3 separate regions of the Homo sapiens genome follow, and all the other regions are linked to region 3. The links are contacts of gene promoters, found by promoter capture Hi-C in human tissues and cell types (Jung and others, 2019). All regions are on one chromosome and are shown on one strand. The core of a region is centred on a gene start or on the middle of the fragment in contact, and the rest is flanking DNA. Distances in the headings are between cores, read along the strand shown. Region 1 has its middle 41 kb from the start of LINC01733. Region 2 has its middle 24 kb from the start of LINC01733. Region 3 holds the start of NANP (N-acetylneuraminic acid phosphatase).

What was found. Contacts are between HindIII fragments. The study calls those that stand out against the background at their distance.
Region 1: a fragment that was not itself captured here is called in contact with the fragment with the promoter of NANP in region 3 in 1 of the 25 tissues and cell types used here (lymphoblastoid cells).
Region 2: a contact is called between a fragment that was not itself captured here and the fragment with the promoter of NANP in region 3, in 1 of the 25 tissues and cell types used here (spleen).

Annotation. Positions count from the first base shown.
Region 1 is chr20:25,994,926-25,998,958 of GRCh38, reverse strand. No RefSeq gene overlaps it. Among named protein-coding and RNA genes, the nearest start is that of LINC01733, 41 kb to the right of the region's middle. The HindIII fragment of the contact is 8,751 bases long and covers 1-4,033 here.
Region 2 is chr20:25,978,387-25,981,838 of GRCh38, reverse strand. No RefSeq gene overlaps it. Among named protein-coding and RNA genes, the nearest start is that of LINC01733, 24 kb to the right of the region's middle. The HindIII fragment of the contact is 3,730 bases long and covers 20-3,452 here.
Region 3 is chr20:25,622,429-25,626,319 of GRCh38, reverse strand. NANP (N-acetylneuraminic acid phosphatase) reads left to right here and starts at 2,306. Exons shown (of 2, transcript NM_152667.3): 1 at 2,306-2,461. The coding sequence starts at 2,372. ZNF337-AS1 (ZNF337 antisense RNA 1) reads right to left here and starts at 2,275. Exons shown (of 4, transcript NR_126465.1): 1 at 2,185-2,275. RefSeq lists enhancers at 2,217-2,386, 2,358-3,033 and a silencer at 2,557-2,616. The HindIII fragment of the contact is 13,881 bases long and covers 1-3,891 here.

The DNA.
Region 1 (4,033 bases), core at 623-3,122, 370 kb before region 3:
AAAATCCCTGAGTGAAAAGGAGGGGAGGCTGGGCATGGTGGCTCACGCCTATAATCCCAGCACTTTGGGAGGCCGAAACAGGAAGATCACTTGGGGTCAGAAGTTTGAGACTGCCTTGGCCAACTGAGACCCCTGGACTCGATTGGAATTGGTCCCACAAACTTTTTTTTTTGAGGGAGTCTCACACTGTCACCCAGGGTGGAGTGCAATGGGGCAATCTCGGCTCACTACAACCTCTGCTCCTGGGTTCAAGTGATTCTCCTGCCTCAGCCTCCCTAGTAGCTCGGACTTCAGGTGTCCGCCACAACACCTGGCTAATTTTTTTCTATTTTTAGTAGGGACAGGGTTTCACAATGTTGGTCAGGCTGGTCTCAAACTCCTGACTTCAGGTGATCCACCAGCCTCTCAAAGTGCTAGGATTACAGGTGGGAGCCATCACACCCCACCAATCCCACAAATTTAGGCATTATGATAATCGGAGCCACCATGCCCCACCAATTACACATATTTAGGCATTATGATATATTGTTACTTTTAGAATCACTTGGTTTTTATATTGTGTTTTTTCCCTTCCATTTGTTTGTTTATTTATTTATTTATTTATTGAGACAGAGACTCGCTGTGTCACCCAGCCTGGAGTGCAGTGGCGTGATCTTGGCTCACTGCAACCTCCACCTCCCGGCACTCCATCTCCACCACACTGGCAACTAACATGCCTCCTCAGGCCCTCTCAGGGTCTAGAGAGGGCGTCTGGAACAGACTGGGAAACTCCAGTAGGCAAAGTAAGGTGCCAGAAATAAAGACACCACCTGAAACATTCTCCATGTTCCCTCCACCCACTCCTCTCCCACCACTCTTCCATCTGGCTCCAACTCTGCCCTCTCCACAAGAGCCTCAGATTGAAATGTTGCAAGGAAGACAAAGATTCTCAAAGTCACAGGCTTGGGAATCTGAGCTATAAAGAAAAATGAGCCTCTGCTCCCCCAACTCCCCCATACTCCCCTGGGCACTGCTGCCCTACATGCACCCCCTCCTCCATAATTTGAACTGTCCTCCCAGAAGCTGGAGGGAGACTGCCCGCCTGTCAGGAAAGAAAGGACCAGCATGCGGCAAATGCCTGGGCTACATAGGAGCAGACGGCGAGATTAGCGCAGGGATTTAAGAAACAAGTGGCTCTCAGACCAAAGAAGACTTGCCCGAGATGGCACACTAAGCATTCATAGGGGTGTGCGCTGGACAGGAGCTTGCCAGTTACCCAAAGAATTGTCTGAGAAAGGCTCTGATCTGGCCCGAAAGGCCCTTGGTTCCCACGGCAACTCCTCAGCGTCTGGCAGTAATAGGCTTCTGTGCCCAGACTTTCTGGGTCTGGAAGTCCCCCTCTGCCAGCCTCTTGCAGCCCAGAGGCACCTCCCATTGGCGCCTGATGGGTTAAGGAAGCTGTTCTTCTAGCTGTGACAGATCAAGCCTGAGGACCTCTCGTGTGTCTTTCTTAGTTGTTTCTTCCCGCCCACCTGCCACTCAAAGCCACAACCCACTTGCATGCCCCCGAGTGGACCCCTTAAAGCGACCATCTAGATCTGAATTGCGCTGAGGGAATGGTCAGCTTCATTCCCATTAGATGGCTTGGCCCAAAGGAACTAGCGATCGCCCAGACAAAAATGTCTTCCTAAAAGCTGGATGTGTCTGTGGTCTCTAAGAGGCAAAACCAAACCCAAAAGGAAAAGCCAACCCACCCACCCCCACCATAAAACAAAAACCAAAACCGCCGACAACCCATCTTTCACATGAGGAGTCCGTGAGAAGGGCCTCTCCAGCCAGGATCAGGTAAGGGAATCTGTGCCCTTGGCCGGACCCAGAACACCCAGTGGCAAGGAACTGACTGTCACACTCTGACCCCATAGAATTTCCACCATTGTCACACAGGTCAGGATGTGTCAGCCTGAGAGATGACACCACAAATCTGGCCTTCACAGATTGATTCCACACTCTCTCACTGATTCCACACACATCCCGCCACTGACACCAGATTCCCTCATCACTGACCCTACATACCCACAAGAATTGATTCCATGGATCTCATCACTATCCAAAAGACCACCCATCACTAATCTACAGACCCTCATCTCTCACCCCAGGGACCCCACAGATTCCCCATCCCTGATTCCAGGATCTATAGAACCTCATCTCTTACCCCCACAGACCTATTTATAAGAGGATACGTTCATGGAATACCATGTTGACCATTTTACACATCCATTGCGTGTGTGTGTGTGTGTGCTGATTAATGGACTTAGGTAAACTTTAGCATTTTGGTAGCCAATGCAGTTTTTCAATGCCTTTTCTTTTTCTTTCTTTTTCTTGTACAACTTTAAAGACCTTACTCCAGTAAGTGTGATTTGCAATTTATCAATGCCTATCTCTTATTGGGTCCTTGTCATGCATATTTGTTATTAATCATAATTCACAATTCTTACAACTCAGAGACACCAGAGTCTCACATAAGAAGAATGGCTGTGGGTTTTTATTATTGTTATTTTTTTGGTTTCTGTAGATTATAAAAGTCATTCATTTGTATCAAGTCAGTAAGTGTATATTTTGTTTTCTTAAAAAATGTAATTAAAAATATTTTTGCTGGAATGCAGTGGTATAATCATGGCCACTGCAGCCTCAACCTCCTGGGCTCCAGTGATCCTCCCACCTCAGCCTACCTACTGGCTGAGACCACAGGCATGCAACAATATACCCACCTAATTAAACATTTTTTTTTTTTTTTTGTAGAGATGGGCTTCTCACTATGTTGCAGAGATTGGACTTGAATTCCTGGGCTCAACTGATCCTCCAACCTTGGCCTCCCAAAATGTTGCAGTTAGAGGTGTGAGCCACTGCACTCAGCTGATAAGATCTTAAAAAGAGTAAAATACTTTGGGAAGTAATGTAAAATTTCCACTGAGACGATGCATCAGAAATTAAAGTAGAATAAAATGGTCCTAGGGCATCTGAAACAATGGGAACTAAGTCTTGAGCCAGGTGTGGTGGCTCATGCCTGCAATCCCAGCACTTTGGGAGGCCAAGATGGTGGACTCATTTGAGGTCAGAAGTTCGAGACCAGCCTAGCCAACACGGTGAACCACAATCCCTACTGGGAATACAAAAATTAGCTGGGAGGTTGCAGTGAGCTGAAATCGTGCCACTGCACTCCAGCCTGGGCAACAGAAGGAGACTGTCTCAAAACATAAAATAAATAAAATAAAAATAAAGAAGAAGAAGAAACAATATCTTGATTTCATCATCAAGTGTAAAAATGTGGACTCTGGAGGCACACAGGTACTCTTTTTCTCTGAAGTTTTATTAAGAAATATTAACATATCACAGAAGCCACCCATTTAAAGTGTAAAATTCAATGATTTCAGTATATTTGCACAGTTGTGCAAACATCATCACAATAAATTTTAGATCATTTTCATTACCCCAAAGTAAACCCCATATCCCTCCATTTCCCCCAACTCCCCTAACCTTGAGCCACCACTAATCTACTTTCTGTCTCTATGCATTCATGTATTTTGGACATTTTATTTAAATGGAATTACATAACGTGATATTTCATGACTGGCTTCTTCCACTTAGCATAATATTTTCAAGGTTCATTTAATCCTGCATGTGCAGAGGGGGCACTTTGCATAAAGATAAACCTGGTGGGTGGTGCTTACTGATTTATTTTGAAACTTCGCTCCAAAATTGTGTGTGTGTGTGTGTGTGTGTGTGTGTGTGTGTGTGTGTATTTTTTTTTTTTTTTTTGAGACAGAGTCTGGCTGTGTTGCCAGGCTGGAGGGCAGTGGTGCGATCTCAGCTCACTGCAACCTCTGCCATCCTGGTTCAAATGATTATCCTGCCTCAGCCTCCTGAGGAGTTGGGATTACAGGTATGTGCCACCACACCTGGCTACTTCTGTATTTTTAGTAGAAACAGTGCTCTTCCATGTTGGTCAGGCTGTTCCTGACCACCACCATGCCCAGCTAATTTTTTTTTTTAAGAC
Region 2 (3,452 bases), core at 635-3,134, 360 kb before region 3:
TTTTTTTTGTAGAACCTATGAAGAGACACTTTGGAACCCATTGAGGCCTGTAGTAAAAATACAAATGTCCCATGATGAAAACTAGAAAAAGTTTTATGTGAAAATGCTTTGCAATGAGTGGATTCATCTCCCAAGGTTAAAGCTTTGTTTTGATTTAGCAGATTAGAAGCACTATTTATGGAGAATCTACGAAGGGACATTTAAAGCCCATTGAGGCCTCTTTTAAAAAATCGAATGTCCCACAATGAAAACTAGAGATAAGCTATCTGTGAAAATGCTTTGTGATGTATGGATGCATCTCCCAGAGTTAAACCTTTGTTTTTATTCTGCAGGTTGCAGACAGTCTAATTCTGGAATGTGTTAAAAGACATTTCAGGGCCCATTGAGAACTATAATAAAAAAACAAATATTCCTTGATAAAAACTAGAAAAATCTATCAGTGAAAATCCTTTGTGTTGTGTGGATTCAACTGAGAGTTAAAATTGTTTTGATTCAGCAGGTTGGAAAAACTCTTTCTTAGAATCTATAAAGCAACATTTCACAGCCCATAGAGGCCTATAGTTGTAAAACTAAATATTCTGCTATAAAAACAGGAAACAAGCTATCTGTGAAAATACTTTCCAATGTGTGGATTTATCTCACAAAGTTAAACCTTTGTTTTGTTACAGCAAGTAGAAAACAATCTTTTTGAAGAACATTCAAAGGAATATTTTGAAGCCAATTGAGGCCTGCAGTGGAAAACAAAATATCTTATCATAAAAACTTGAAACAAGTTATCTGTGAAAATGCTTTGTGATGTGTTCATTCGTCTGACAGAGATAAACCTTTATTTTGATTCAGCAGGTTGGAAACACTCTTTTTGTAGAATCTAGGAAGAAACATTTTGGAGCCCATTGAGGCCTATAGAGAAAAACCTAATATCCTGTGATAAAATCTAGAAACAAAATGTCTGTGAAAATGTTTTATGATGTGTGAATTCATCTATCAGAGATAAAACTTTTTTTGATTCAGCAGGTTGGAAAAACTCTTTGTAGAATCTATAAAGGGATATTTCAGAGCCCATTGAGGCCTACTGTGGAAAACCAAATATTCTGCAATAGAAACTAGAAACAAGCTATCTGTGTACATGCTTTGCCATGTGTGGGTTCATCTTACAGAGTTAAACCTTTGTTTTGATTCAGCAGGTTGAAAACCTTCTTTTAATAGAATCTACAAAGGGATGTTTCAAAGTACATTAGAGGCTATACTGAAAAACCTAATACCAGTGATTAAAACTAGCAGCAAGCTACCTGTGAAAATGCTTTCTGATATGTGGATTTGTCTCACAAACTTAAACCTTTGTTTTGATTCAGCAGGTTGGCAACACTCTTTTTGTACAACCTATGAAGGGACATTTTGTAGCTCACTGAGGCCTATAGTGAAAAAATGAATATTTCAAGATAAAAATTAGAAACAAGCAATATTTGAAAATGTTGGTGGTGGGTGGATTCTTCTCACAGAGGTAAACCTTTATATTGATTCAGCACGTTGGAAACACTCTTTTTAAAGAATCTACAAAAGGACATTTTGGAGCCCACTGACAAGTATATTGAAAAACTGAATATGCCACGATACATACTAGCAACAATCTATTAGTGAAAATGCTTTGTGATGTGTGGATTCATCTCACAAAGTTTAACCTTTATTATCATTCGGTAGGTTGAGAACACTCTTTATGTAGCATATACAAAAAAAAAAGATATTTTCGTGAACATTGAGGACTAAAGTAAAACACCAAATATTTCACAGTAAAAACTAAAAACTGTCTATCTGTGAAAATGCTTTGTGAAGTGTGGATTTATCTCACAGAGTTAAACCTTTGTTTTGATTCAACAGGATGAAAACACTTTTTTGTAGAATCTATGAAGGGACATTTCAGAGCCTATTGTGGACTATACTGAAAAACCTAATATCCTGGCATAAAAACTAGAAAGAAGCTATCTTTGCAAATTATTTGCGATGTGTGGATTTATCTTACAGAGATAAACCTTTTTGTATCAGTTAAACCTTTTTTTTATTCCCCGCAAGTTGGAGTCCTCCCACCTGACCATGGGGCCATGTTGTGGACAGCTTGTGCAATGAAGGGAATGCAAGGGTGGAGTTGGAAGCACTTCGTGTGTCATCTGTCTGCACCTTTTTTTGCAGATGAAGGTGCAGACCCCATCCACACCTCAGCAGACTGTATGCTCACCCATATCTGAACTTATTGCTGCTCACACTCCTAGTTCTAGAATGAAATCCCAAGATGTTGGAGGAGTGCTCCCTTCATGACATGAAGCACCTGCTCGGCTGCAAACAGAATTCGAATTGGATTCAAGCGGCCTGTGGACAGGACTGCTAGAGTCACACCCTGGGTTGACCACAGGACAATGAGGCCCTGACAGGTGTCTTCTTCTGAGAGTGGTGTGCTCCTCTTCTTTCTAGAAGAATGGCTCCTTTGTATGGGGAGGTGATTTGTACACCTGTGAGTCTCAACCATCCCCCCAACTCACCGTGGACTCAGGAACCACGGAAAAACAAAGAACATGCAGCCCCATAGGCCAAGCAGAGCCACACAGACAGGTGCACCAGAAGGTGGAGGGACTAGAAAAAAAAGTGCTGCAGTGCATTAAACACATTCCTTTTAGCAGATGCCCCTCACACACACACACAGACACACACAAACACACTCACATACAGCCACACACACACACGCAGACATTCAAACACTCACAACACTCGCACAGAAACACACAGCCTGGCAGCTCCTGAGGCTGCACGGTTCTGCAGAAAGCTCCTTCTGAGAGAGAGCAGCCTCAGAAAACAGAGGCGGGATGTACCTAGAAATCACAGGGAGGGAAGTTTCAAAAAGACTCACTCCCACACTGTCTAGGCAGGCCTGACTCATCGTGGGTATCCTTTTGGATCCTTAGGGATTTTGTGGTTTATTCCTGGGGCTCCACTTGATGTGTCTTCAGGCTGACTCGCCACTGCCCACTCCTAGGATTGTGGGAATATCCCATAGAGCCCTCAGAGTAGACAGGTGATAGTTCAATGCCAACACACATCCACAGAGGACTCCTTCTCCACCAAGATGAAGGGACTTGTCACCAGGTAATGGTGGCATTCACTGTGACATGAGCCACTGCTCACCACTGGTGCCTGGTGGCCTGACGGTCACATGTGCATTCACCAAGCAGGCTCGGGCACCTGGCTGTCAGGGCTGTAAGCCTGGCAAAGCTCAGGAAAATGGTACAGCCAGAGCTGGCCTAGTCTCCAGAAAAAGGCTGCCTGAAGCAACCCACTGCAGCACGCTAATAGTCTCGAACATAGGGCCTTCATGAGACATCTCCATGGTAGGGTCCCACAGGAGAAGGAGGAGTTTGAAGACTGTGAGGTGAGCTCTGGAGACTGGTCTTCTGACTCCATTCCCA
Region 3 (3,891 bases), core at 1,057-3,556:
GATCAGGCCTTATGGAAACAGGAAAAGCGCAAGGTCCTAAGGGCTCTCCAGCTATGACAGCAGAGCGTAAAATTCTTTGTGTTGGGGTTTCTATTTCTACTACCGAAGGAGGCAGCACCGATGTTTCTGCAATTGGAGGAGGCGGTATAGGCCAATTTTAATCCTCCCTCTCCTGTTTTTTATTTTCAATTGGTGCTATGTGTGGGACAACAGATTCAGATTTTTATGAACAGCAACAGAATAGGGTGCTCTACACAAAGTTGGACAGGTCATGGAATGCCATTAGACGACTTGTCACAAAAGGAAATCTATCAAACAACGCATCCCCTTAAAAGGATTATACAGACTGCTATGCCTCATCTAACCTTAGATTTTTGCCTAAATCAGCAAACAACAAACTCTGCATGCAAGTCAGAAAAAAAAAAAAAAAGCTGCTCCAATCCTATAAGCTTCCTGTGCCTATAGTTTTATGCTAAATTGATTCTGACATTTCAGGCAATTAAAAGTAACTCCAATTAATTCACCATAATTTTGGCTGATTGCTAATCTAAATGTCCACAATTGATAGGCTAGCCCTATACGTCAATGAGGTAAGCACAGAAAGGAGTCATGGTTTTGAGGAATGCCTATGGGTTTATTCTCCACCATAGCAATGAGATGTCAACTGTGATTGTGCTCCATAAAATATAGAAACTGTAGGTAGTCTAACGCTGCAGAAGAAACTCCTATTAATATAAAGATAAACCAATTAATCTAACCTACTGAACATCAGTGGTCTGTTAAGGAGTTCCACCAGCGAGGTGAGAGACTGGCAATTTTTTTCTCTAAAGAGCTAAATAATGAATATTTTAGGATTTCCAGCCACGTGGTCTCGCTTACAATTACTCAACTCTGTCTGCTTCTGTATGGCAACAGCAGCCACAGACGATACAGAAATGAATGTGTGCGCTGTGTTCTAATGCAACTATGGGCACTAAAATTTCTTGATTTTCATGTGTAACAAAACACTGTTATTTTGATTTTTTAAATCCATTTACAAATGTAAAAATCACCCTTAGCCAGGCGCGGTGGCTCACGCCTGTAATCCCAGCTCTTTGGGAGGCCAAGACGGGTGGATCACGAAGTCAGGAGTTCGAGAACCAGCCTGGCCAACATGGTGAAACTCCGTCTCTACTAAAAATACAAAAATTAGCCGGGGGGTGGTGGCATGCGCCTGTAATCCCAGCTACTCAGGAGGCTGAAGCCGGAGAATTGCTTGAACCCGGGAGGCGGAGGTTGCAGTGAGCCAAGATCGTGCCACTACACGCCAGACTGGGTGACAGAGCAAGACTCCATCTCGAAAATAAAAATAAAAATAAATTAAAAAATAAAAAAAACCACTTAGCTCACTGGCTAAACAAAATCAGGTAATTGGCCTGTACCTGACAGTCAATTTCTGGTCACTAATGATGACCACATATCCAAATTACAGTAAAGGTACCCAAGAGAGACAAAGATTAGAGATTAGTGTTACGATCCCCGTTCTGCCAGCACTAGGAGACAAGAGTTGCTACAGCCCTTCCGCGGGTTTAAAAGGCGGTCGACGTCCCTCAACCTCTTGCTATGCCTGAAAACAACCGAGTAAAAGGCATCCAAAGACCTGAGAACGCAAGGTTTCAGGAAAACAATCAGGAAGGGCAAAACATGGGGCAGCCACTACACAGCCCCTCCGTCTTAGGGCACAGGTACTAAACGGGTTGTAAGAGACCCAAGTCACATCCTTCAGAAACGTGCTGGCGCGGGCCCAGGCAGACAGGGATTCCACCCCGGCGAAGGCCGCAAATGGCGCGAGGCGGGAAGGCGCAGGCTCCACCTTCCCCCGTCCCCAGATCACCTACAGTGACCTGCGCGTACAGGCAGGCTAGGACCGCGGGCGCTCAAGGCAGACATCAGGCCCGCCGACGTCTCCGCGCCGCCCGCCCGGCCACCCGGAGAGCCTGCTGCCCAGCGCCTGGCAGCGCGGACAACCTCTCTCGGGGAGGTGATGACGGTCCCTCGCGCCGGAGGGCCCAGGGAGGAAAGAGATAAGCAGAAAGACACCAGGGAAGAACACCACGCTTCGGACCAACGCCAGCCACAGCCACTGAGAAGTCGCCGCATCCGGCGGCGCCGACACACGTTTCCAGGGCTCTTGAGAGACCATACCCTGGGAGTCTCGCGGGATCTCACTTTTCTCGGCGGCGCAGGGAATGAGACAGATCGCGGGAATTCCACCCGCGCCGGGAGATGGTCTGGTGACTTCGCGGCTCCTCCCACGTCTCTCTGGGCAGTCCGCCTTGCGCATGCGCAGGCGGCGGTGGCAAGGCTACGGTTCGCGCCAGCGGCCGGCGCTATGGGGCTGAGCCGCGTGCGGGCGGTTTTCTTTGACTTGGACAACACTCTCATCGACACGGCCGGGGCGAGCAGGAGAGGCATGTTGGAGGTAACGTCCCCACCCATGGCGCTCCTCTGGGCGGGGTCAGTGCGCCCCGCCCCGTCCTGCACGCTCACCTCCCCTTGACCCCACTTCCACCCCGGCGCCGCGGGCCGCTCTTGCTGGTTGAAACCTGTGGAGCGTGCGGGTGCGGAGGTGGCTGGAGGCGCGCGGGCCCTGCGGGTCTGCTTTCCCTGGCCTGGCGGCCGCTTGTCACCCAATCTCGAGCCCTGGAGCGGCTGCTCGCAGGTGCCTTGGCGCTCGGGACGCGGAAGGGCTCCGTGACGGCTGCCACGGTGGCGGAGGTGCCCGTGGGCGCGGGAGGCGACAGCAAAGCCGCGAGACCAGGCGCTGGTCCCGCCCCCGGTCAGACTGTCGGTGTGGAGCTCGACAGAGGGTCGTGTCCCCCATGCGACTTTCGGGGTTGCTGGGAGGAGACATGGTAGAGTTAGCCCCAGTGTTGACCCAAGAAGGGACACGGCTGTCAGTACCGAGCCTGGACTTAAGCCCTGCTTTAGAGAATTGTCGCCGCAGAACTTCTTCTGGCCTCCCTGGCGGGGTGGTGGTCACCGTGGCTTTCTGACACGTGACACAGCAAAAGCCCGTGCTGCGAGGGCATGCCCTTCCTGAGGCGCTCCTCCGCGGCACTGCCCCTCTACACGCGCGGAGGCGCTTTCAGACCTTCCCGTGTTCCAGCCCCAGTCCACCCCGGCTTCCCTTTCTCTACCTTCAGCTTCAAGGGGAAAGGGAAGGATTTATCAGATGTGGAAAACTCACTTTCAAAAGCTAATTCATCCAAACCTGAGCGCCCCGTCCTCTTCATGCTTCATCAGTTAGTTTTTGTGTCCCTGGATCTTCCACTACCTCATCCGTTTTCTTTTTAGCTGCATTCCACTCCTGCCGCATATTCATGTTTGCCCTATAGTTTTAAAAAAGCTGTAAAAAGGATGCCTCCCTTTGGGCTATTCTTCCTGCTGTAGATGTTGCCTGTCTCTCTTGACAGCCATGTTTTCCCGGAGAAATCTATACCCGTTATCTCCTTGTCTCTACCTCCTATTTATTACTAAATCCATCGTAATGTCGCTTTATCTTCACCGCTAGACTGAAATAGACTTGCTGGATCACTAGGCATTCCCAAAATGCCGGAATCAGTAGACATTTTTAAAGTCTGTCTTCATGACTTTACTGAGGCATTCCACACTTTTAACTTGTTGGCCTCCACCTCAGGGGTGCCACCCTGTGCCATATTGCCTCCAGTATCTCTCGCTGCAGATGTTACATATTTACCTGTGTGTTATTAGTAAGCTGAGTCCTGTGCATTTCAATTAAATTATTGCTTTAGGCCAATTCTTGCTGTAGGCCCAGAGTTTGGGCTTTAAAATCAGACATTTGAATATGAATCACAGCTCTCCCAAAACCTAGCTGAAAGTGCCTCAAGG